Linked DNA regions of Homo sapiens: all the other regions are linked to region 1. Evidence: promoter capture Hi-C in 16 types of primary human blood cells and fetal thymus (Javierre and others, 2016). All regions are on one chromosome and are shown on one strand. Each heading gives the region's core, a stretch centred on a gene start or on the middle of the fragment in contact. The rest is flanking DNA. Distances are from core to core; before and after follow the strand shown.

The links. The method cuts DNA at HindIII sites, captures the fragments that hold promoters and counts their contacts. A CHiCAGO score of 5 or more calls a contact.
Region 2: a contact is called between a fragment that was not itself captured here and the fragment with the promoter of SP140 in region 1, in 3 of 17 cell types (naive B cells, total B cells and naive CD4 T cells). The highest score is 7.3, in naive B cells.
Region 3: a fragment that was not itself captured here is called in contact with the fragment with the promoter of SP140 in region 1 in 2 of 17 cell types (total B cells and total CD4 T cells); the score reaches 6.2 in total B cells.
Region 4: a fragment that was not itself captured here is called in contact with the fragment with the promoter of SP140 in region 1 in 1 of 17 cell types (neutrophils); the score reaches 5.1 in neutrophils.

The regions. Positions count from the first base shown.
Region 1 is chr2:230,222,254-230,228,949 of GRCh38, forward strand. It overlaps SP140 (SP140 nuclear body protein), which reads left to right and starts at 3,483. Exons shown (of 27, transcript NM_007237.5): 1 at 3,483-3,650. The coding sequence starts at 3,592. It also overlaps a transcript of SP110 not described here. RefSeq lists enhancers at 3,363-3,572, 3,803-3,852, 3,923-4,002, 4,023-4,072. The HindIII fragment of the contact is 6,572 bases long and covers 1-5,740 here.
Region 2 is chr2:230,514,548-230,520,374 of GRCh38, forward strand. The region is part of intron 24 of SP100 (SP100 nuclear antigen); the gene reads left to right. It also overlaps the pseudogene HMGB1P3. Among named protein-coding and RNA genes, the nearest start is that of SP100, 100 kb to the left of the region's middle. The HindIII fragment of the contact is 4,574 bases long and covers 206-4,779 here.
Region 3 is chr2:230,537,189-230,543,862 of GRCh38, forward strand. SP100 (SP100 nuclear antigen) reads left to right here. Exons shown (of 29, transcript NM_001080391.2): 25 at 2,079-2,194; 26 at 3,688-3,808; 27 at 4,113-4,184; 28 at 4,704-4,847; 29 at 5,648-6,674. The coding sequence ends at 5,758. Among named protein-coding and RNA genes, the nearest start is that of SP100, 120 kb to the left of the region's middle. The HindIII fragment of the contact is 6,508 bases long and covers 1-5,428 here.
Region 4 is chr2:229,914,810-229,920,531 of GRCh38, forward strand. All of the region lies in intron 1 of TRIP12 (thyroid hormone receptor interactor 12), which reads right to left. Among named protein-coding and RNA genes, the nearest start is that of TRIP12, 4.3 kb to the right of the region's middle. RefSeq lists an enhancer at 5,518-5,617. The HindIII fragment of the contact is 2,293 bases long and covers 2,735-5,027 here.

The sequences.
Region 1 (6,696 bases), core at 2,233-4,732:
GCTTGAGAACATGGTAATAATGGGAAAACGTCACCTGTTAATTCACATGCTAGTGATTATGTACTGAGATAAATTATACATAATTCTTTTTAGCTCCATTTTATTGAGGTATAAAATTTATTCATTGTAATGTACATTTTACCAAATGTAGTTACTACACCAGTCAAGATGTAGACCATTTCTAGGCCTGGAGAGTCGCTTGTGCCTATAATCCCAGCATTCTGGGAGGTCAAAGCAGGAGGATCGCTTGAGCCCAGGTGTTTGAGACCAGCCTGGACAACAGAGCAAGACCTCGTCTCTACAAAAATACATTTTTTTAAATTAATTGGGCATGTTGGCATACACCTGTGGTCCCCGCTATCAGGGAGACAGAAGTGGGAGAATTGCTTGAGCCCAGGAGGTCCAGTCTCTGGTGAGCAGTGACAGAGTGAGACCCTGTCTCAAAAAAAAAAAAAAAGATACAGACCATTTCTGTTACCCTAGAAAGTTCCCTGTGACCTTTGCAAACAATCCCCTCCTTAAGGCCAGCACCAGGCAACCACTGATCTGCTTTCTATCACCACAGATTAGTTTCGTGTGTATTAAAGTTTTTTTTTTTTTTTTTTTTATCAATGAAGGCACATGGAATGCATTTTTGGTGTATGGCTTTCTTTTCCTCATCATCATGCTTTTGAGATTCATCTCTGTTGTTGTGGGTCAGTAATTTATTCTTCTTTAGCAGGTATGCTAGCCACCAAGATCCTGCTCATCCTGTCTGATCAGCATGATGTCATCAATCAGTCTGACTTTTTTTTTTTTTTTTGAGACAGAGTCACGGTCTGTCTCCAGGCTAGAGTGCTGTGGCGCAATCTTGGCTCACTGCAACCTCCGCCTCCCAGGTTCAAGTGATTCTCTTTCCTCAGCCTCCTGAGTAGCTGGGACTACAGGCACGCATCACCATACCTGGCTAATTTTTGTATTTTTAGTAGAGATGGGGTTTCACCATGTTGGCCAGGATGGTCTTGATCTCCTGACCTCGTGATCTGCCTGCCTCAGCCTCCCGAAGTGCTGGGGTTATAGGCATGAGCCACCATGCCCAGCCCAGTCTGACATTCTATGGGATGTCCAGGTGATCCAGATATCTTTCAACTATATTATGACAAAGGGCAAGTGAGTCAATATAACCTGCCTGGACTGCCTACTTTCTTAACCTAGTCCTCTGGCTTTCCCATACATTCTGTGAGCTACCCAATATAGTTCTAAGAAATTGACTTTTTGCCTGAGTTAGCCAGAGTCAGTTTGGATTACTTTTACTCCCAAATCCTGACTGATAAAAATGTTGGGCACCAGAGGTTGAATTATAGGCAAGAGATATTCAAGGAAATATGATCAATCTGGGATTGGTTATCTGACATAATTGGACATAAAAACAGTGAACATCCCCATTAGCGTTCAGAGTCAGGAATTTTGGAGTTGTGGGCAAATAGGGGTAAGTTGGCAAATTAAATTACAGCACTGGATTGTGATCAAGACTCTATACAATTCATTTCCCCAATTCCAGGTGTCAGATTCTAGCATGCTTAGCAAAATGAAGAGAAATCTTCCAGGTAGAATGAAAGCATTGATTTACCTTTGGGGATTATGACCTACTTGGCCTAAATCTGGATGGGGGAACAGAGCCAGGAGGCAGGCCGGAGCCTTCTGACTCCACTGGTCACGTGGCAGTAAAGGAAGACATTGGGAACCAGAGATGGTCTGATGGTCCTACATATGCCTGGCCCAGGAATCCCTTACCCAGGAGAGGTTCTGTAGTGAGCATAGGGAAAAACAAGATAGTGGGAAATAGAACTGAAATTTCAGGCTATCCTTACCTGGGCTAATGCATGGTGTTGCAAAGTAGGGCTTTCTAGTAGTAGCAGCAGTACCCCTGAAGTACCAATCTTACCACCAGTCAGCTGAGGAACACCAATGGCCTTGTGCTTATAAGCAAAAGAAGCTGGCACATTTTCAAAAATGTCCAGTTCATTGGTGTCCTGGGTCTGCCTACTGCCTAAGGGCAGAGAGAAGAGAGAGAGGGGATGCTGGAGCAGGCGGTATAGTCTGTACCAGGCCTTGTTGGAGCCCCATGGAGACTGGGAGGAGAGGACAGCTGTGTCTAACAGAAGCCCAGCATACTTTTCCTTCTTGTTTTAAAGAGGGAGGGAGAGGGAGGGAGAGAGAGGGAGAGGGAGGGAGAGGGAGGGAGAGAGAGGGAGAGAGAGGGAGACAGAGGAGAGAGAGGACAGAGAGAGAGAGAGAGAGGAGAGAGAGAGAGATACTGGAAAAGGTGTCCTCATCAGTGTTCTAGAGTTTGTCTCAACCAGATTGGTGTTTGTTCCTTTGGTAGAAAGAAAGCAGAAGTGTGGAAGGGGTAGAAATTTCTTGCACTCTGTATTTTGCAAACTTATGTATGCAAATTTCCTTGCATATGTGTAATGAACCAGAAAAAGTAGGATTCAGGAGCACATGTTTTGGAAAAATACTGCTTTGCCTCTGGCTTTTCAATCCTCACTACTGTTCTGTCACTGGCCCTGGATTCTACCCATACCCTGGCTCTCATCAGCCCCCTGTCTTTGACCCATTTTTCTGCCTGGATTTCTAGTCCTGTGGTTATATTTTTTATATTTGCCCTTTGCTTCCATTTGTTTATCACTCGACTTTATGCTGATATAGTGTGTTTTTGTAAATTGTTTCAAATCCTTTACAGAATGAGGGCTGGGTATAAATGAAAAATTGTGTGCAAACATAAATGTAATACAGCTATCCTCCTGTATCATATTGTCCTTGAAGGTCTAGATAATCTCAGCTCCAAACCCTTTCCCCATCCAGTGAGAAGGCTGTCACTCTCCTCAAGATTTCAGTGAAATGGTTGAAGCTCATTTTTTTCCCAGTCACCCCTGGCTGCTGTTGTAAAGTGCCCACATATTTGAGAAAACTTAGAATTGCACCTCATTTCTCTGCCCAACCTCAGCACTTGCCTTTGGCTGGAGGAGTTGAGAGAGTTGTCTTTTACCTCTGTCTGCTTTCATGGAGTGCTAAGAGCATCTCCCCCACTTTCTAATGCATGCTATTTCAGTTCTCCCTGGCCCCATGTCCAAACACTGGGCCTAAGCCATCCAGCCCAGGCTCACTAAGGTGCATGGCCAGCCCTGGAGCCTGACTGAAGATTTGAAATGTCTGGTCTTCACTTGTCCTTCTCAGCCACCTCAGCAAGGGGTGGGGACAAATACAGAGTTTACTTCCTCCTCATGATGCCACCTTACCTCAAAACAACTTTGATCTGCTTGAGTTGAATGACTTTTCCACCCTCTTTCCTTGGCAGGAACAAGTGACCCTGTCTTCCGTGGCCTCGTGGGGCTGGCTCTGCTCCTCCTCCCTTGACTGAGAGACGTCATGGAGATTGGGTGGAGGGAGGACTGTAGAGTTGGTGCACCCACGTCAGCTAGTTAGGCAATTTCACTTTTCTTTTCCTCTTTGACTGAGCACCGAGGGGCAGTTGGCAGCTTCACCTCAGAGCTGCAGGAAGGAACGGGGCAGTGAAAATCGAATCGGGTGTGATCCTAGGCCAAGCTCATGGCCCAGCAGGGCCAGCAGGGGCAGATGGCAAGTGGAGACAGCAATCTCAACTTCAGGTGGGTCATCGTCTCCTTTCCCGTCTGTCCTTCATCTCTGGTAGGGTTCCCTTTCATACTTGTTATTTAATGTCTACCCAGCTTCACTCTACAGGTATACAATAGAATTCAGTTACAAATAAATAACGAGGCAATCAGATTTTTTAAATTGCAGGGATTGGCTGTTGGAGAAACTCAAGGATGCCGTGACTCACATCATCTTCCTATTCTCTTACATCTGCAAATGGCTGGACTGGAGCTGTTTGAACATCATGCCTGTTCTGAGGCTTTGTGTAGGATTGGATGATTCCCCGTGACCTCTGAACCCTCTCTTCTCCCCCAGGCCTCCTTTATCCCCACTCCAAAAGACAACTCTGTCTAAAAAGGATCTTTTTAGAAGAATTAAAATCCAAACGCCTGTCTGTTGTCACACTTTCCAGGCTGTGTAGTTGGGGACCGGTTCTGCTCTGAGCCCATCTATGTGGCTCTTAGCCCTAGAATCACTTCAGGATCTCTGAATACTTGGTAGGAGGAAGTGAAAGCAGATGAGACCCAACAAAAAAGGCAAGCAGGTAGAGAGTGAGTGCTGCTTCTGCTTTTTTTATTCTTCTGTTCTGGTATTTTTTACATATCTGGTCAGAGAAGCCTGGAAATCATCTTTAAAAAATGTAAGACAATGAGACCAGTCTGACCAACGTGGAGAAACCCTGTCTTTACTAAAAATACAAAATTAGCTGGGTGTCATGGTGTATGCCTGTAATTCCAGCTACTCAGGAGGCTGAGGCAGGATAATCGCTTGAACCAGGGAGGCAGAGGTTTTGGCGAGCCAAGATCACACCATTACACTTTAGCCTGGGCAACAAGAGTGAAATTCCATCTCAAAAAAAAAAAAAAAAAAAGACAAGTACATCAATACGGTCATTTCTTCTTATCTGTGGATTCTGTATCCATGGATCTAACCAACCATGAATGCAAAATATTTTCTAAAAATTAAAAACATAAATAACAACAATAAAAAGTAATATAAAAATTTAAAATACAGTATAACTATTTGTATAGCATTTACATTGTATTAGGTATTATAAGTCTAGAGATGATTTAAAATATACAGGAGGATGTGCATAGGTTATATGTAAATACTACACCTTTTATATCAGGGACTTGAGCATCCATGGATTTTGGTATCCATGGAGGGTCCTGGAACCAATTCCCCCTGGATACCAAGGGATGACTGTACATTCTTGATAAAAATGAAAATGTGTGGAATGTAAAAATGTATGGAAACTTGTCTAATTGGGACTCTGTGCTAAGGCTACTTCTGGCGCTGGTACAGCCCCAAGAAAGCAAAAGCTATTGCTATTATCAGCAGTAGTGGTGGCACCAGACTGGTTTTCAGTGCCCAGTGCCACCACTCCCAGACAGGCATCCCTGTCATCTCTCTTTCACTTGCTCTCTAGTGAAGGGAAGATGAGCCAGCGGAGCTCAAAGTCCAGCCAGCCCATGGTCACCAAGCAGGAAGAAGACGGCACTGAGAGGTGACAATGGGCTAATGCTAACCTCAAAGAATGAGTTAGGAAGTGTTGCCTCTGCTCTTATTTTTGGAGGAAATTGGGGAGGATGATGTCATTTCTTCCTTAAATATCTGGTAGGATTAGCTAGTGATACCATCTGGGCCTAGTACTTTCCTTTCTGGAGGGCTATTAATTATCGATTCAAATTTCTTTAATAGATGTAGGCCTATTCAGACAACCTATCTCTTGTGCAAGTTTTGGTTAGTTTGCCTCTTAAAGAATTTGTTCATTTCATCTGTGACCAAATTTGTAGGTGTAGAGTCCATAGTTTTCCTTTATTACCTTTCCATTGTCCATGGAATTCGTAGTGATGACCCTTCTTTCATTCTGATGATTTCCGTCTTCTCTATTTTTTTCTTTGTTAGGCTGGCTAGAGGTTTATTAATTAACTCTTTGAAAAGAAAATCAGCTTTTGGTTTCATTAAGTTTCTCGAATGTTTTCCTGTTTCAATTTTTTTAACTTCCACTTTAATTTTAATTTTTTTTCCTGCTTGCATCAGGCTTAAATTGCTCCTTTTTTCTCTAGTTTCCTCAGATGAAAGCTTAGATTATTGACTTAGATCTTTCTTCTTTTCTATTGTATGCATTTAATACTATACATTTCCTTCTAAGTGCTGCTTTTGTTGCATCCCATTCATTTTAATAAGTTGTTTTCCTTTTCATTTACTTCAAAATATTTTTAAAATTCTTTTAGGACTTCTTATTTGACCCTAGAACTCTTTTGGTTAATCTGGAAATATTTTGGAATTTTCCAGCTATTTTTCTGTTACTGATTTCTAGTTTATGGTCTGAGAACAAACTTTTAGGATTTCTATTCTTTTAAATTTGTTAAGGTATGTTTTATGGCCCAAAATGAAGTACATCTTGGCAAATATTCTATGTGAGCTTAAAAAGTACATGCATTCTGCTATTGTTAAATGGAGTACCGTATAAGTGTCAGTTAGACCAAGCTGATTGCTATTGCTCATCAGGTCAACTACACCCTTACTGATTTTTCTGCCTGTGTGATATGTCAATTAATAAAAAAGAAGTGTTGAAGCCTTCAATAATAGTAGTGAATTTGTCTATTTCTCTTTATAGTTCTATCAGTTTTTGCCTCATACATTTTGCCATTAGTTTGTTAGTTGCATACACATTAAGGATTGTGTACCTTCTTGGAGAATTGACCCTTTTATCATAATGTAATGTCCCTCTTTAATCCCTGACAATTTTCCTTGTTCTGAAGCTTCTTTGTCTGAAATTGATATAGCTACTATACCTTTTCTTTGATTAGTGTTGGCATGGTATATCTTGCTCCATCCCTTTATGTTTAACCTATCTGTATTTTTATATTTACAATGACTTTCTTATAGACAACATATAGTCGGGTGTTTTGTGTTTTTTATGTACTCTGTTGATCTCTTGTCTTTTAATTGGTGTTTTAGACCATTGGCATTAAAGTGATTATTAATATAGTTAGATTAATATCTACCACATTTGTAAATGTTTCATTGTAC
Region 2 (5,827 bases), core at 1,243-3,742, 290 kb after region 1:
AGATAATTTTTCTCTCTTCGATCTCCCTTTTCTGCCAAAGAAAAATCATAGGCCAATTTTATTTGCAATATAAGTTTTAGTCTTATTGTACTTGACCTGATTATTTATATAAAAGGCAACAGGAATAGTGATTGTCCATATAGACTCCTTTTAAGTTGGCTTTGCTGGAACTTTTTCGTTAGACATTTTAGATTAGACTTTCAAAAGCTTCTTCAGGCTAGAAAGCCAAGCCAAGGATTTATCATCAGATTGTGTCTGCACTACTTGTAAGAATTGGGTAAATTCCTCCTTTCTTGAAGTCCCCCAAATACCTCAAGGTTTCTGGGCCTGTTGGGAAGGGACATTACTTAACACGAGGTCAAAAAACCTACAAGAGATTGCAGTACATTGAGCTCCATAGAGATAGTGCTGGCGCAAGTGAGAGCTGGACAGGCCCTGGGCGACTCTGTACCTTGCTGAGGAAAAATAACTAAACATGGACAAAGCAGATCCTAAGAAGCTGAGAGGTGAAATGTTATCATATGCATTTTTTGTGCAAACTTGTCAGGAGGAGCATAAGAAGAAGAACCCAGATGCTTCAGTCAAGTTCTCAGAGTTTTTAAAGAAGTGCTCAGAGACATGGAAGACCATTTTTGCTAAAGAGAAAGGAAAATTTGAAGATATGGCAAAGGCGGACAAGGCCCATTATGAAAGAGAAATGAAAACCTATATCCCTCCTAAAGGGGAGAAAAAAAAGAAGTTCAAGGATCCCAATGCACCCAAGAGGCCTCCTTTGGCCTTTTTCCTGTTCTGCTCTGAGTATCGCCCAAAAATCAAAGGAGAACATCCTGGCCTGTCCATTGATGATGTTGTGAAGAAACTGGCAGGGATGTGGAATAACACCGCTGCAGCTGACAAGCAGTTTTATGAAAAGAAGGCTGCAAAGCTGAAGGAAAAATACAAAAAGGATATTGCTGCATATCGAGCTAAAGGAAAGCCTAATTCAGCAAAAAAGAGAGTTGTCAAGGCTGAAAAAAGCAAGAAAAAGAAGGAAGAGGAAGAAGATGAAGAGGATGAACAAGAGGAGGAAAATGAAGAAGATGATGATAAATAAGTTGCTTCTAGTGCAGTTTTTTTCTTGTCTATAAAGCATTTAAGCTGCCTGTACACAACTCACTCCTTTTAAAGAAAAAAACTTCAACGTAAGACTGTGTAAGATTTGTTTTTAAACCGTACACTGTGTTTTTTTGTATAGTTAACCACTACCGAATGTGTCTTCAGATAGCCCTGTCCTGGTGGTATTTAGCCACTAACCTTTGCCTGGTACAGTATGGGGGTTGTAAATTGGCATGGAAATTTAAAGCAGGTTCTTGTTAGTGCACAGCACAAATTAGTTGTATATGAGGATGGTAGTTTTTTCACCTTCAGTTGTCTCTGATGTAGCTTATACAAAACATTTGTTGTTCTGTTAACTGAATGCCACTCTGTAATTGCAAAAAAAAAAAACAGTTGCAGCTGTTTTGTTGACATTCTGAATGCTTCTAAGTAAATACAATTTTTAAAAAACCGTATGAGGGAACTGTGTAGACAAGGTACCAGGTCAGTCTTCTTCCATGTCTATTAGCTCCACAAAGCCAATCTCAATCCCTCAAAACAATCTTGTCATACTTGAAAATATGACACTCTAGTCAAAGCCTTGGTAAAATAATCAGTGTTTCCAATCTGTCCTGTTACAAAAGAAACAGATTATTATTGAACTTATGCAAATAACCATTGTCATAAGAATGTTTATGAATAGTTTCCAAATTATGGCAAATTCATGTAGAGAGAGAAAAGTAACTGTTTTGGTTTTGCTCACAAAAGTCTACTTTACCTAAGGGCTGTCAGATATAAGTAACTTAAAAGAAAGAGAAGTTTTCTTGACTTTTGAAAACAAAATATGAAAAGAATCGGCAATGTTTCAAACAAAAAGTCATAAAAGTCACTTTATTCCTCCATCAATTTAGTCTCATGTAATTCTTATTTTGCTGGTGTTGGGTTAGCAATCTTCATGAAGACATCAGTTTTTCATTAGAGTTCTGGAAGTTTTATCTAGTCTAACTATATGATCTCCAAAGTTATCAGAAACCTATGTTCAAGAGTACTTGCCAGAGCCTTTTCCATAAAAAAGCAATTTTGGATTATAGTTGACTTCAAATGCTTGTAGAGAAAATTTTAAAACGGTAACTGTGGATGTCAAAAACTTAGAATAGCCATGGTTAAAATCTAATAGAAGTACCCAATTGACAAGGAAATTTAGATATTTTGATTACCTGCAGCATTTTAAGATAACAACCAGAATCACGACTGATAGTGTCCCATTAAAACTATTAGATTTTTACAAATGTCATATACTCTTTAGGATATTCACATTAATAACATATCTATACAAATATTACTTTAGAAAAGACTTAATCAAAATTATGACTGATAACAGATTTTTATAAATTTATATAATTTGGGGAACATTTTATCGATAACATACTCATAAGTGTAACTGAAGGAAGATCTAGTATTATGTATCATTTGACAGTTTCTCCCATACAATTTACCAAATCAGTCTAATCATTTAATATCTCTGCAAGAGGAGAGATACATTCTTTCAGGTCCCTCAGAGGTCCAACTGGAAAATAGCAAAGTAAATTTTAGGCCAAAAAAACAATTTAGGATGTTGATCTTGGGGAAACCTGCCAAAGATGTAGAAAGGTATAAAACACTTGATCAAAATGGAATCACAGATCATTGTAAAATAATAATTATTCATTTAACCAGAGTTATAATCAAAAGACTTCAAAAGCAATACAGAAAGTTGTATGGATGTAAAAATCTTAGCTCTTTTAAAGCTCAGTTTTCTTGAGTAATCAAAAACTTAATAAAGACAATACAGGAATTATCTCAATAAAAATAAGTTTTGGGCCAGGCGCCATAGCTAACACCTGTAATCCCAGCACTGTGGGAGGCCAAGGCAGGCAGATCACCCGAAGTCAGAAATTTGAGACCAGCCTGGTCAACATGGTGAAACTCTGTCTCTACTAAAAATACACAAAAAATTAACCAGGCATGGTGGCATGTGCCTGTAGTCTCAGATACTCAGGAGGCTGAGGCAGAAGAATCGCTTGAGCCCAGAAGGCAGAGGTTACAGTGAGCCGAGATTGCACCACTGTACTCTAGCCTGGGCAACAGAGCAAGACTCCATCTCAAAAAAAAAAAAAGTTTTAAAAAGAAAGAGATATCAGAATTAAAAATCAGTATCTTTTAATTTTATTAAAAGCAAAGCAATATTTTAAGCAAACTTTGTTGTTCTAACATAGGGGACCAAATTTTTTGTTTTTTATTAGTTTATTTTTAATATCAAATCTCAATCTTTAGAAAGACTTAGAATTTCCTTTTAATTATAGCCAACTTGATCATATACAAAATTTATTTCATAGGGTTTCTTTTCACAAACCTTATTATGACTTAGACTGTTTGCGAAACGCTTGGACTTTTTGCTTTTCTCTGTACTTTCTTAAATAACTAGACATTTTACTTTAGAACAAAAAACTTACAAGACTTTTTTCTCATGCAAAATTATTCTCTTTTAACCTGTCTTACCAAAAATATTTATAACTTTCTTCGCTTTTCTCTCTCCTTCTTACTGGTTCCTTTCTTTATTGCTCCTTATTTTAAAACAACCTTAAATAACCCCTGAATTAAACACAATTACTTTTTCTCAGTAAAGAACATATTTTTATGCCTTCTTATAATTTTCTGTCATGAAAAACACATCTTACTTTTTTGACACATTTTAAATTTAGAATTATATATATTAATTAGAATGTTTAAACTTTCAGTAACTTTAAATTTTATTGAAAACCTAGGAAATAAGAAATCTTGAATTGTCTATCACATGACAGTATCTTACAAATGAGAACTCTTTTATAATTTTTAGAAACATTTTCCCATAACAAAAACATTTTTTATCTTAATTGGAATTGACCTAGACGTTTAATGAGCATCTATTTTTGAATTTAATTTAGCAAAACTTTAAGATTATAAATTACATTAAAAGTTTATTTATATATGTTTATCCCATTTACATTTATTTTTAACAGTTTACCTAGATTACTTATGAAAATTGATATATTAGACAAAGCTAGTCATCATTTCAAGTTATTTTCCTGTCAACCAATTTTATAGCCTGTGAATATCAGATGTTCACTTAAGAAAGAATCTTAAAGTTAAATATATGAGTATTTTGCTGATAACTTAGAAGATAGTTGTTTTATTAAAGCAAAAATATTTAATCAGTCATACTTATCAAAAGATTTATTCAAGTCATGTGAACTTAGATGTTTGGGACTACTAATTCCTGAGCATTAATGTATTTATAAGTCAGTCTGTTACTACAGAGAGGTTTTATAGCTTTGATTTTAAAATTTTGGTCATGAATCAGGTAAATTTCACTAGTTTTAAAAGGAGAATTGAATTAAATTGTGCCTTTCAAAATGGTACAAGTTAAAGTTATCTGTCCTACATGACTGAAGCCCTTAATGAGTGTAAAACATTTATATCTCAAAGCACAGAGAAAGAATTTAATCCTTCCATATGGCTAATGAAGTTTTACATTTCCAAGGGACTGTGAAGTCCAGCAGGGCATTTAAAGGGTATTGTCTGATATTGGATAAAGAGTTTAATTGGGTTTACTTCCACTTTAATGGGGGTGGTTGAATATGTTTTACCAATGTCAGTGGGAGATTGGGAGCATAAGTGATCCAGCAAAGCTTGCAATAACTCATCGGTGTCATTCGTTAGTCTTGGGTCAGAAAAAATTGTTGGTGATAATTGTGATAATTTTAATTGTTTCATTTTCATTCTTTAGTTGTTCTGTTTGCTCCTTCTGTTCCAAACGTAAATACGTTTTCCCCCTTTTGAGAGAAGGAAATGTGTGTATTGTGACATTCCAAAAATCTCTACCTAAGAGACAGATGGGAGCCAAGAGAACAAGTAGAAAGGAATAAATTCAGTTAAGGAAGAATATGAAGGCATAGGGGTAGAAGGAGGAGAAGAAATTGGAATGAAAGGGAGAAAGCTTCTGAAGTCTTTTTCAAATCAGAAATAGTGTGGGATGGCCTTTTGCTCATCTCTTCAATGAAGGCCATTTTTTTTCCCCAGAATTTCTTTTAGGAGCATCTCACTGCTATCAGAAGTAAGTCAGTTTGTCTGGTTCTAAAACCAGCTTTTTCCAATTGTGTATGGTAATACATCAGCTTAGGCATTTTCAAAAGATCCCCATTTTGGCCACTGCTGCTTTTGACCATCCCGGGTTACATGGGTCCACTTATCTAAGTACTTGCAAGAAGAAGGACTCTAAGTGTTACACATCAAACCAGCTGGTGCTGATAGAGGCAGTGTACCCTGAGTCTTAGAAGACATGTTTCCCATCTTGGTTGTTTTGAATGAGACAAGTAATGTAGTGGATTAAGTGTGGTGGTTTTGAATTTTTCTTCCCCGAAATTTCACTCAATAGGCTGAAAAGATTATCTTACATGTCTCTGATTCCAGAGTCACCTCCAAAGAAGTTTCAGGGTATTCATGGACAAGAGATAATCAGTTTTTATGAAGCTTGCCAGCTGAGCGAAAAGTTAACAGTGTGGGGATTTTCCTATGAGACTGCTCCATGTTGCTGGGGGTATGCCCTGACACCTCCGCTATTGTGGGTTTCCTAAAAACCATTTGGTCACAGACAGAGAATGTTTCTTAACTTCAGAGCAAGACTGCCCTCCCTCATGCACTCAAAAATGAGAAAGCTAAGGAAAGGTTGTCCCAT
Region 3 (6,674 bases), core at 925-3,424, 310 kb after region 1:
GTTGAGGCTGCAGTGAGCTGTGATCGCACCACTGCACTCCAGCCGAGGTGACAGAGTGAGACCCTGTCTCAAAACAAAAATGCCATGCAGCTGGACTGGTACAGGACACTAATTGAGAGGGGATAGAAAAGAAGTTGCCATGCCCTCTATTTTCTTAGCCAATGCTCTTCCCTAGCAAGATCTAGATCAATCCACACTGTTTCTGTTTCTTTGCTGGAGGTGAGACCCTTCAGTAGTCAAACAGCTCTCATCTCTGGGGTCTGCATAACTTGTTTGATGACTAAGGGAGACCCATAGGGCCATTTCTTACAGCCCACAGCCAAGCCCTCTGTGAAGAGGAAAAGGCAACTCTTCCAGCAAGGAAGTCCTCACCCCTTTTCAAAAACTTTCCTAGACAAACTTGTAGGCTGTTAATGACTCTAGTTATGACCTCCCAGCCCTTACTCAGGAGAAACCACTTTGTAATGTGGGTTTTCAACCTTGGCTGCACGTTGCAATCACCTGGGGATCCCCCGCAACCGCCTGACAAAGATTCTGATGTTATTGGTCTGAGGTGCTGCCTGAGAATTGGTGTTTCCAAAGCTCCTCTGGTGTTTTGTGTTTTTCTAGCACAAGAAAAGTTGTGAGTCACTGTAGTGCAATACAGTTCGATCACAATTGCCACAATTGTGTAGGGTCCATCAGAACCACCTGAAGGGCTTCATAGACCACAGCTGGCTAGGAGCTACCCCTAGGCTTCTGATTCAGCAAGTGAGAGGCAGAGCCCAAGGCTGTATATTTCTAACAAGTTCCAGGTGCTGCTGCTGCTGGTCCAGAGACCACTGCATTAGAGGCCAGAGTTCTCAACTATTGACTGCACATTAGAACCATCTGGACAATATTTAAGACATACTGATGCCTATACACCAACCCAGACTAACTGAATCAAAATCTCTGGTAATGGGGCTCCAGAGATGTTTTTTAATGCTCCCAGGGGATTCTACTGTAGAGCAAGTTGAGAACCACTTGTAAGCAAAAGAAAAAAATTCTTACTAAAAAGGTTAAAGAGACATACACCAAGTTTGCAGGCTTTCTAGACAATGGAACTTCAAACATAGGATTTGCCTGTGGTATTTATTCTTTCTTGGGGCCCACTTGCAGTGTACTTTATAGGATGATGTATCAGAAACCTTGACCCAGCAGCCTAAAAATAGTGGTCAGCATCGATGAGTCTCATCTGTTACAACAAAAAGGAAAAACAGTTACAAGGCCCCACTCCAGGGGAAGCTCAGGCACCCCCCTTGGAGATGTGCCCAAGAAATGGCTCCTAATAGGCCACTCAAATTCTGCCATTGAAAGGGAACACATGGGCAAGATATATCTTGCAGCCTAGAATTGTTTTTATTTATGTGACTTTAGTCTCTTCTTTGTATAGTGACTTTGTAGAGGAAGAGAAATTACAACACCTTACATGCCTAAGTCATGGGGACTCTTCCTCCAGGTTCCCAGAGCAAAAAGCAAAAAGCCCTGTACTCCCTGGTGCCCACCTGGTCATCTTGCCCACGGTTTTTCCATCCCAGAGGTACTGCTGCAGGCCCAGAGCCCTCCAGGAAAAGAACTGACATCTAGGAACTCCTCCCCCAAGCCCTTTCTTCAACTCATTCTTGCTATGACAAGAGTGTGGGTTGCAGTGATATCTCAGAAGTTTATTCCATCATATTAAATTCTCAGTAAATCACCCTTTGGCAAGTCAGTTTAAAGGATACGATGTAGACAGCTAGAAAAGACACTATTTCTGGGCCAGGTTTTCCCAGCTGTTTAATAAATTGCTCAAAAAATCTCTAATTCATCCTATTTTTGTCACTAGTCATCATGTCAGAATCTCTGGTTTCATAAAGAAAACTTTTCTGGCCTGACACACAGCCACTATCTACTGAACTTTGCCGCAGACCAAAATGTCTTCTGAGATCTCCACTCAGCAATCTTTAATATTTTGAGGACAGAAATTTACAAGTGTGCCCTTGATACATAAAAAGGTCACATATTCTAGGGTCCAAGGGTCTCACTGATCCCGGTGATGTCTACATCTCCCCTTCTAGCCGGAAAACTCAAATATATGTGAGGTGTGCAACAAATGGGGACGGCTGTTCTGCTGCGACACTTGTCCAAGATCCTTTCATGAGCACTGCCACATCCCATCCGTGGAAGCTAACAAGTGAGTAAGACATGTCCCCTTCCCTGAGCCCTTCCTTCTTGTGGTACAGCTCCTCCTGCCACTCATGAGTACTCTGCAGAGTTTCTGTACCTGGTTATGTGTTTCTTGATGCATAAGGAGCAGGCTCCTTAGCATCAAGATCCACAAGTATTATCCAGAGCTGTTGAACAGTGCTGGTAGCAGCAGATTAATGGGAAGCAAAAACTCTTCAAGTGGTTATTGAGTGCAATAGTAAGAGGTGTCAACTTCTACCTCCCCTACTTGGCTCCCAGACCCATGCTCTCTAATGGGGTGATGCCATCATACACTGCCTGCTGGTTTAAAGAGTACACCACCTGCTGTGGGACCATCACACAGCTGGTAAAGCCAGTGCTGCAGCAGTCTATCAAGCCAACTGACCCTGGGTCACAGGTCACATGTTGAGACCTGTGAATTCTGCAAGTGTGAGTCCCCTGCTCACTTCCTTTGCTAAAAAATGTGCCTTTGGACAGAGGTGATGGTGTGCAGGATACCACGGAGATTGATAAGGTGCTCTGTGAGTGGTGTGTGGACAGAATTGTTAAGGCTGAGAGGATGATCTCTACCGGGAATGTGTCTGACTCTATGAGGGCAGAGCATTGCCCTTCCATAATGGAGGAGGCTAATGTGACCCACCTGCTCCCAGGGTGTCATCTCAGGGGATCAGCATAAACCTCTGCTTTTGACCAGTTGGCCAATCTGCAGAGGCAGAAGAAAAACCAGCTTTTTGGTTGAGCCCTTGTATAGCCCCTATCTCTGCACCAGAGATGCAAAGTGCTCTCAAAGGAGCACTTTGTAACAGGCTCCTTGAGCAAGCACTACATGGCCAAGGGGATGCTGGCATCACTAGGATGGGTCATTGTGCTTGCCTGATTATCAAAAGCCTCCTAGCACAGACAGCCTAGTAGAGAAGGTTGGAGAATGAATCTAGGAACAAATGAAAGATATCTGACACCTCTCTGGAGATTTCCTTTTCAAGAAGTTTCTGCAGCACAGATTCTAGGTATAAGATATGGCAGGGCCAAGGGAGAGGATGCCTATAGCCTGTGCTCTCTGCTTACTCAGCAAAGTTGAGAAACAAGAACTTGTTTTCTGATTTTTCTGTGATCTGATTGACTCATAGAGGCCCAACACTTTGTGCTTAAGGTACTCATTTCCATTAACTGTAGCAAACCGTGCTCATTATCAAGTTCCCAGTGGCTCAGATGGAAACCCTAAGTTTTGAGGTGAATGAGATTCTGTCACTCATGGGGCACTTCAGCCAACAGATGATCACCCCTGCTATCACTATTGGTGGGAGGGCATGCCTTTGGCTATTGAGTCCAAATGGGGCTCTAGTGCAGAGGCCTCCAAGAGAGAAGTTGGATACAAGGTGGAAACCACTAGGCATTCTTGAGCAGAGGACTTGAACAACTGTAGGAATGGCGGCTGATTCACAGAACCTGCCATTGCTCACTTTATGCCCCATCTCTCAGGAACCCGTGGAGTTGCATCTTCTGCAGGATAAAGACTATTCAGGAAAGATGCCCAGAAAGCCAATCAGGTCATCAGGAATCTGAAGTCCTGATGAGGCAGATGCTGCCTGAGGAGCAGTTGGTGAGTAAAAATGTGAACCTGAAGCCTCTTCCTTTCTGTTCACCTGGGCAGGAGAAGCACAGTCTTACAAAGTGCTCAAGGAATGGAGCCCAAAAGCAAACTGCTGGCCTATGGTGTGCTTTGCTCCATGACCTAACGCTACAATTCATATTCCAAAGAAAAATCCCGGTCCAAAGAAACTCCCCATGCCATGTTTGTTTCAAAGAGTCCACAGGTTTGGGAGTCGTGTGTTCTCTTTGGGCAAGCATATGAGCTCTTTCTCTCTAAATTGCATTTAATTTGAAATGGCCTCCATCTTTTGCAGAAATGTGAATTCCTCCTCTTGAAGGTCTACTGTGATTCGAAAAGCTGCTTTTTCGCCTCAGAACCGTATTATGTAAGTAACAGCCAAACAAAAATGCTTATACTGGCATTTGTCAAATCTGTGATCTGAATCCCATGGCACAAGGTGCCATTCTATTTGGCTTGTTGATGAGTTTTTAGTTCAGGCTACTATAGAAATTTATCATAGATTAGGTGGCTTAAACAGCAGAAATGTTTTTCTCACGGTCCCGGAGGCTGCATGTCCAAGATCAGGGTGTCAGTAGGGTCCGGTTCTGGAGAGGGCTGTCTTCTAGGTGTCAGAGACGACACAGGGTTGCTCCCTGTGTTCTTGAGTGGCAGAAAGAGAAGGAGAGAACTCTCCAGAGTCTCTTTTATAAGAGCCCTAATCCTATTCATGAGGGCTCCACCCTTCTTACCTCATGACCTCCCAAAGGTCCCACCTCCTAGTACCTTCACAGGGGGGTTAGGATTTTGACCTATGGATTGGGGGAACTCCACAAACCTTTATTCCATAATAGTGGGAGTCTATGGCACTGGGCTGATAGCCTCATTTTGGTCTTTTACTCAACAGAACAGAGAGGGGTCTCAGGGCCCACAGAAGCCCATGTGGTTAAACAAAGTCAAGACAAGTTTGAATGAGCAGATGTACACCCGAGTAGAAGGGTTTGTGCAGGACATGCGTCTCATCTTTCATAACCACAAGGAATTTTACAGGGTGAGTGGCTCTCCCTGCTTCCTTTTCTCTTTCAATTACATCACTTTAAAGTCACTTTCCCTGTCATCTTTTCATGTCAGGTAAATGTTACAATCGCCCTTATCATATGACAAGCCCATACAAGTACAAATCCTGGAAGTATCCTAAAAGCCCTGTAGTGCATGTGGAGAAAATAACAACAAACTGGAAGGTGCCATTGCAAACATGGTCCTATATATAACCTCAGAGTTGACTCATTTCTAGATGGTTTGTTTTCACCCATAGAGAACAGTAGGCTGCAGACTCATTTGTTTCTACTGGAAATAGAAGTGCACTTTAAAGGCATTTAAAGTGTTTCTCTTCTCTAGAGGAAGATACCAAATCAAAGGTCTCAAATGTCAAAATATTGAATTTCTTTACATCTGAACTTCCTGGCACTATTTCAGAAATTAATAAGGATTATGTCAAGGGGTGAGAGTAAAGGGAAAAGGAAGACATTATTAAATGGCCTTAAACATTTCTGTACTATCATAAGGTTACTCAGAAAATGCTGTGCATAAAAATCACACAAGTAGAATTTTTAAAAGTTAAATTAATCCATAAGCTTTTGATCAGAAATTAGATTTCAGTGTAGTAGTATTTTGACTTGTCTTCCAGATAAAGATAAATAATTAAATTATCAAGGAACATAAGCAACTCAAGTAGATTAATTCTCACTTAACATTTGGGATAACCTAAAATGAGGCCCCAGATTATCTGCAACACTGGGTGTCTCAGCTCATTGCATAACTGCTATATTGTTTTTTTCTTTGCTTTTTTAGGAAGATAAATTCACCAGACTGGGAATTCAAGTACAGGACATCTTTGAGAAGAATTTCAGAAACATTTTTGCAATTCAGGAAACAAGCAAGAACATTATAATGTTTATTTAGCCATTCTTATCTCCTCCCTTCAGATCCTCTGGCAGCTAGCTACGCAATGTGCCTGTGGTCCCACTAATCTGTGACTGCTCCTGTGGAAACTCCACATCACAATTCTCCAAAATTTATCATTGCCATTTTAAAACCGTCTTTTCAGCTTTCAATAAAATTCAACACCCCTTCATGTTAAAAATTCTCAATAAGCTAGGTATTGAGGAACATATCCCAAAATAATAAGAGCCATTTATGACAAACCCACAGACAACATTATATGGAATGCGCAAAAGAAGCATTCCCCTTGAAAACAAGCACAAGACAAGGATTCCCTCTCTCACCACTCCTATTCAACAAAGTATTGGAAGTCCTGGTCAGAGCAGTCAGGAAGCAGAAAAAAATAAAGGGTATCTAAATAGGCAAAGAGGAAGTCAAACTATCCCTGTTTGCACACAACATTGATTCTATATCTAGAAAACCCCCTAGTCTCAGCCCAGAAGCTCCTTCTGCTGATAAACAATTTCAGAGATGTTTCAGAATACAAAATTAGTATATGAAAATTACTAGTATTCCTATACACCAGCAATAGCCAAGCCAAGAGCCAAATCAGGAAGGCAATCTCATTCACAATTGCCACTAAAAGAATAAAATACCTAGGAATACAGCTAATCAGGGAGGTGAGAGAGTTCTACAATGAGAATTACGAAACACTGCTCAAAGAGATTGGAGATGACACAAACAAATGGAAAAACATCCCATGCTCCTGTGTAGAAACAGTCAATATCATTAAAATGACCATACTGCCCAAAGCAGTTTACAGGTTCAATGTTATTCCTATCAAACCACCAATGACATTCTTCACAGAACTAGATAAAACTATTTTAAAATTCATACAGAACCAAAAAAGAGCCCAAATAGCCAAGGCAATCCTAAG
Region 4 (5,722 bases), core at 2,631-5,130, 310 kb before region 1:
GGCTTATAAATAGCCTTCAAAAATCCATGTATGGGTAATAACACCATATTTATAGAAATATGTACATGCTCTCTAAAAAGAAACAAACAGAATAAACTACAATGATGTATACTATTATAAATTGGAAACACTAATCATTTAGCACTGCATTAAAACATATTGGCCAGGCACAGTGGTTCATTCTTGTAATACCAGCACTTTGGGAGACCAAGGCGGGTGTATCACGTGAGGTCAGGAGTTCAAGACCAGCCTGGCCAACAGAGTGAAACCTGTCTCTACTAAAAATACAAAAAATTAGCTGGGTGTGGTGGCAGGCACCTGTATCCCGGCTACTCGGGAGGCTGAGGCAGGAGGATTGCTTGAACCCGGGAGGCAGAGGTTACAAGTGAGCCAAGATTGCGCCACTGCACTCCAATCTGGACAACACAGCGAAACTCAATCTCAAAAAAAAAACTTATTTAGGTCCTCAATGTACTTTATCAACTATTACATGCACATAATGGTCAATTAAAGAGTAACAAAATGGCTTGCCCTAATTCTTTTTAAAATGTATGATTTAAAGTAACTTGCAGTCTCCAAAATATATACTGACTAAAAGTCTCAAAGTCATTTTAGCATTAACGATGCAAAATAAGAATCAAAATTTTAAAAATAGGACATTAAGCCATTACAAAATATTTCCACTTACAGTATCTTATTTTATTTTCACAAGACTTATTCTGTCAACAAACGCTTAATCCCTATCATGGGCCAGCTACTGTGCTAGATGCAGAGATAAAAAGGGACACTACTTGGGATTAGTGTCCTTATAAAAGTTAAAAAAAGGGTGAGGGCTAAAGACTTTAAAGAATTCATAATCAACTAAGGAATACTATTGTATACTAAAAAAAAAAAAAAATTTTTTGAGACAGGGTCTCACGGTCACCCAGGCTGGAGTGCAGTGGCACAATTACAGCTCAGCACAGCTTCCATCTCCCAGGCTCAAGCAATCCTCTCACCTCAGCCTCCCAGGTAGCTGAAGACTACAGGCATGTGCCACCATGCCCAGCTAATTTTTTACTTTTAGTAGCAACAAGGTCTCTACTAAGTTGCTCAGGCTAGTCTCAAACTCCTGGGCTCAAGTGATCCTCCTGCCTCAGCCTCCCAAAGTTCTGGAATTACAGGCATGAGCCACTGGGTCAAATGTTTCAAGTAGGATACCTATGCATATAACAGAGGTATGTTCGAGTTAAAAGAGTTTTAACAAATGAGGCAATGGTCCACAGTACTGTAAACAAGTGGAGAAAGGGCCTTGTGTTCCAATTCATCTGTGGAGCCTAATCTAAATACAGAATGTCTAGCATATAAATGACAACTGACTCTACATTAGGTGGTAATAATCAAATTTTTCAGATTAGGCACTTGAAGCTCACAAAGTACTAAGTTAAATTATTTGCCCAAGGTTACAAAGATGGGAAATGCATAGCCAGGATTGGAACCTAAGTCTTGCCTTCAAATCAGATAATCACTTGAACAGTGCTATTAAGGAAAACACACAGTAGCAGGTATTTTTCACTCTAGACCATTTGAATGACTTTTTAAATCAAGCATAACCATGATAGCCAAGTGTGGAGGTGCCCGTCTGTGATCCCAGTATTTGGGAGGCTGAGGCAGGAGAATCACTTGAACCTGGAAGGTGGAGGTTGCAGTGAGCCGAGATCGCGCCACTGCACTCCAGCCTGGGTGACAAAAGTGAGACTCTGTCTCAACAAACGAACAAGCATAACCATGAAACTGACTACTGCCAATAGCTTCTGCACTCTCAAGACAAAGCAGGTAAGCCTGAATAATGGGTAAGTTCCTTTTTCTTCTATCCAATTCAGTTTAATGAAATCACTGAAATCACAATAAACAACCAAAATCTAAAAGGCCTCAGAGAAAAATGACTGAACAGACTTATTTCAGTCTAGGAAACCTCTTTTTGCCAATAACCTAAAACTATCAGTAAGTTAGGATATTAAAGAACTACATTTTTAAAAAACCCAAGACATTAGCAGAGTTAAATTTTACTTAAAAAAAAAAAAAGAAAAATCAAGGGACAGGTCTAGCATCGGTATACTTATCTATTTATTACAAATAACAGCAAGCATCCATTATGCACAGAGAAACCCAGCAGAGAGGTAGAGAACAACTGCTTTGAGGTTATGTCTTCAAGTCTGTAACACAGCTGCTGAAATGATACACAAGTACCAAAAGAAAATACACAAGTAAAGCTTACATTACACTACACGTTAAGAATTACCAAGCACTGGCCGGGCGCGGTGGCTCACGCCTGTAATCCCAGCACTTTGGGAGTCCAAGGCGGGTGGATCACGAGGTCAGGAAATCAAGACCATCCTGGCTAACAAGGTGAAACCCCATCTCTACTAAAAATACAAAAAAATTAGCTGGGCGTGGTGGCTGGCACCTGTAGTCCCAGCTACTCGGGAGGCTGAGGCAAGAGAATGGCATGAACCCTGGAGGCGGAGCCTGCAGTGAGCCAAGATCGCGCCATTGCACTCCACCCTGGGCAACAGAGCGAGACTCTGTCTCAAAAAAAAAAAAAAAAAAAAAAAAAAAAAAAAAAAAAAATTACCAAGCACTAAGATTATATACAACAATCTAAAAATTATATTTATTCTGTAACATCCACCAGATTTTTACTCTTCCACCCTATCTGGCCTGGACTCTCCTCAGGCTTGGCCTTATTAACTAAAGCTTGGCCTATGAAAAAAGTGGCACAGAATAATCCACTGGCTTAACACTAAAACATGGCAGTGACAGTTGATATCCATCCAGGCACTCTAATGGCACGTTAGTCAGGGGAGATGTGAAGAGGCCCTGATCACTGAACCAACCAAGAGAAAGCATTCTGAAGAATCTGCTGGGGTCAAAGAACCCTTCCAAGCAGGTTGGAGTCCAGTGGCATGATCATAACTATTAACTTCAAATCTCTGGGTTCAAGCAATACTTCCGCTTCAGCCTCCAAAGTTGCCTAGAACTACTGATGCATGCCACCATGCCCAGCTAACTTTTTTTTTCTTTTTTGTGGAGACAGTCTCACTATGTTGCCTGGGCTACAACTCCTAGCCTCAAGCGATCCTCCCACGTCCTCACCTCCAGTGCCACCTCACCCAGACCAATCAGGTTTATTAGTATACCTTCACACATACCACATTGACATGAAATCATCCTTGCCCTCAGGAAGCCTACAGTCCAATCAGGGAAACAAAAGCAACACATGTCAACAAATGCAATACTGTAATGCAGAAACGAAGCAAGTACAGTTAATCAGAAATACAAAGATCACAGGTAGAAACTTGTTCGAGGAAGTGATCTGAAGACATGAGTTGTAAGTTGTTCTTCACATCCTTTATCTTCTATGTTTTTCTGTACATAGTGGGTGCTTGCTTGATTTAAATGAGGGAAAAGTCCATGTCAAACAGGCAATTGCAAGGAATGATTTCAGTGAAGATTAAAAAACCAAGTAGGTTGCTGTTTTGACTTGAGTCCATCAAATAGCAAACAAAAAAATAAAGGAGCAACTGGTATCACATTTGCTCAAAAAGATCCCTACCCATCCACTTAAAAGGGGGGAAAGTTCCCTAGGTTCTGTAAAGAAAACAGTGACCAAGATTCAGAAGCATTATTCCCTAATTGTAATCTCTTACATTAAGTCAATTTCATTAGAGTCACAAACCAGAACAGGTACTTTGTCAATAAAAAACGTAAATGAATTTGAAGTTTCTTTAAACATATTAACAAGTTTTTTCAGTAGAATGTATGGCAAACAAGTATCTGGCATGCTGATACCAAAAAAAGAAGGTAACTTTAAAAAGACAAAAATGAGACCCAAATTCTACTACCAATTAAGCAGCAATTTCAAATTATGAAGTTCTATAACTCTGTACCTTCAACCTAGTTTACATTAATTCTCCCCTGCCCCATGGACCACCACGACTAATGAGAAGCTGTATCTTTTAAAAATGACCTCAAAACAGCTCATGTAATTTTCTAAAATTAATTTATTTAGCATGTTGTTTTTTTTCAGTCATTACATCTGTTGGGTCTCACAACCACCCAGTGAGGTAAAATAGAGATTACCCACTCCCATTTTACAGATAAAATAAATGAAGACCAGATAGGTTAAGTGACTAGCTCAAGGTCACAAAGCTACTAACTGGTAGTGTGTGAATTTCCAAGCCAGTGATGTTTTCCTTGCTAAGATGAAAACCTTAAAATAAAGCAGGATATTAAAACCTTGTCTAGATAACATAAATACAATAATCTTACAAGTTACACTGGGGCCGGCGTGGTGGCTCTCCCCTGCAATCCCAGCACTTTGGGTGACCAAGGCAGGCGGATCACCTGAGAGGTCGGGAGTTCGAGACCAGCCTGGCCAACATGGTGAAACTCTGTCTCTACTAAAAATGCAAAAATTAGCCGGGCGTGGTGGCGCGTGCCTGTAATCTCAGCTACTCAGGAGGCTGAGGCAGGAGAATCGCTTGAACCAGGAGGCAGAGGTTGCATTAAGCCTACACTGCACCACTGCACTCCAGCCTAGGCGACAGAGCAAGATTCTGCTTTAAAAAAAAAAAAAGTTACAATGGGAAAGGAATCATACATGGAATCATACATTACTACAAATTTACTTTGCCAGGTGAAAGTACTGATTTTACCGTGATCTACCTAGCATCCCATTCGTTTTTTAAATGTAACTACTTTAGTTTAGCACCTTCTGGAACCTAACTGCCAAAATTGTTCTCAAACTTTTTGAAAGTAAATGAAAAAAAAAAAGAAAAATAAAGCCTGTTCATAGACTCAAACTAAGTAGTATAAATGTCAGCTGAACAGACTTAAAAACTGCTCACACTCCAGAAAAACTGGGGATTGAATGGAAACAATGATAATCTTAATTACAGTTTTCCAATTCTTATGGATATTGGCACATTCATAGAAAGGCAGACATGTACAAAGCCCACAAACCCCAATCATATTATGTACTCTTAAGCTTAAAATAAAACTCCCTCAATCTCACAAAGATAGTCACAGCAGTTCAACATTTCTGGGGCTGAACACACAGCAGGAAGTGTCAAAAGAAAGAATTAGAAATTCTGTATACTTTAAAACTTACACTTAATATTGATCACTTTGCATGTGGTAAATATGAAAATCAGCCTCAATAAAATCCTCTACAATTTATTGTCTCTAAACCTCTGCTAATTCCATTCCTCAACCCCCCCGGGGTGTAAATGCGACACACACAGGCCTCATATACAGGCCTCTTGCCTTTTTTTCTAACACAACTAGGACCTTTGTTCTGAGCGTCGTTTTACCCCACTCAATAGCTCTTTCAACTTTCTACCCCGTATTTTTTGTTTTGTTTTTAAAGAGGAGACTCTGAGACTCAACTTGCTAGGTCTTTAAAAAATGAAATGCCAAAAATACCTAATGAGACTCTCGAGAGGAACATAAAGTTAAACACATCACTAAAGGGCCTACAAAACGGAGTAAAGCCCGGAGATCGGGTGATCTGGCAGCCCAGGCAAGATCGAGGACCGCGACTAGGAAAGGAGACAGCAGGAGAGCAGTTAGACGTCCACTTAGAACGGATTCACTGCGCTATTAACCGTACCCGCCTCCCCCCGCACCGGCCCAACCTTTACACACAAACACATTCCCTCCCCCAATTAACTAAAGAAGC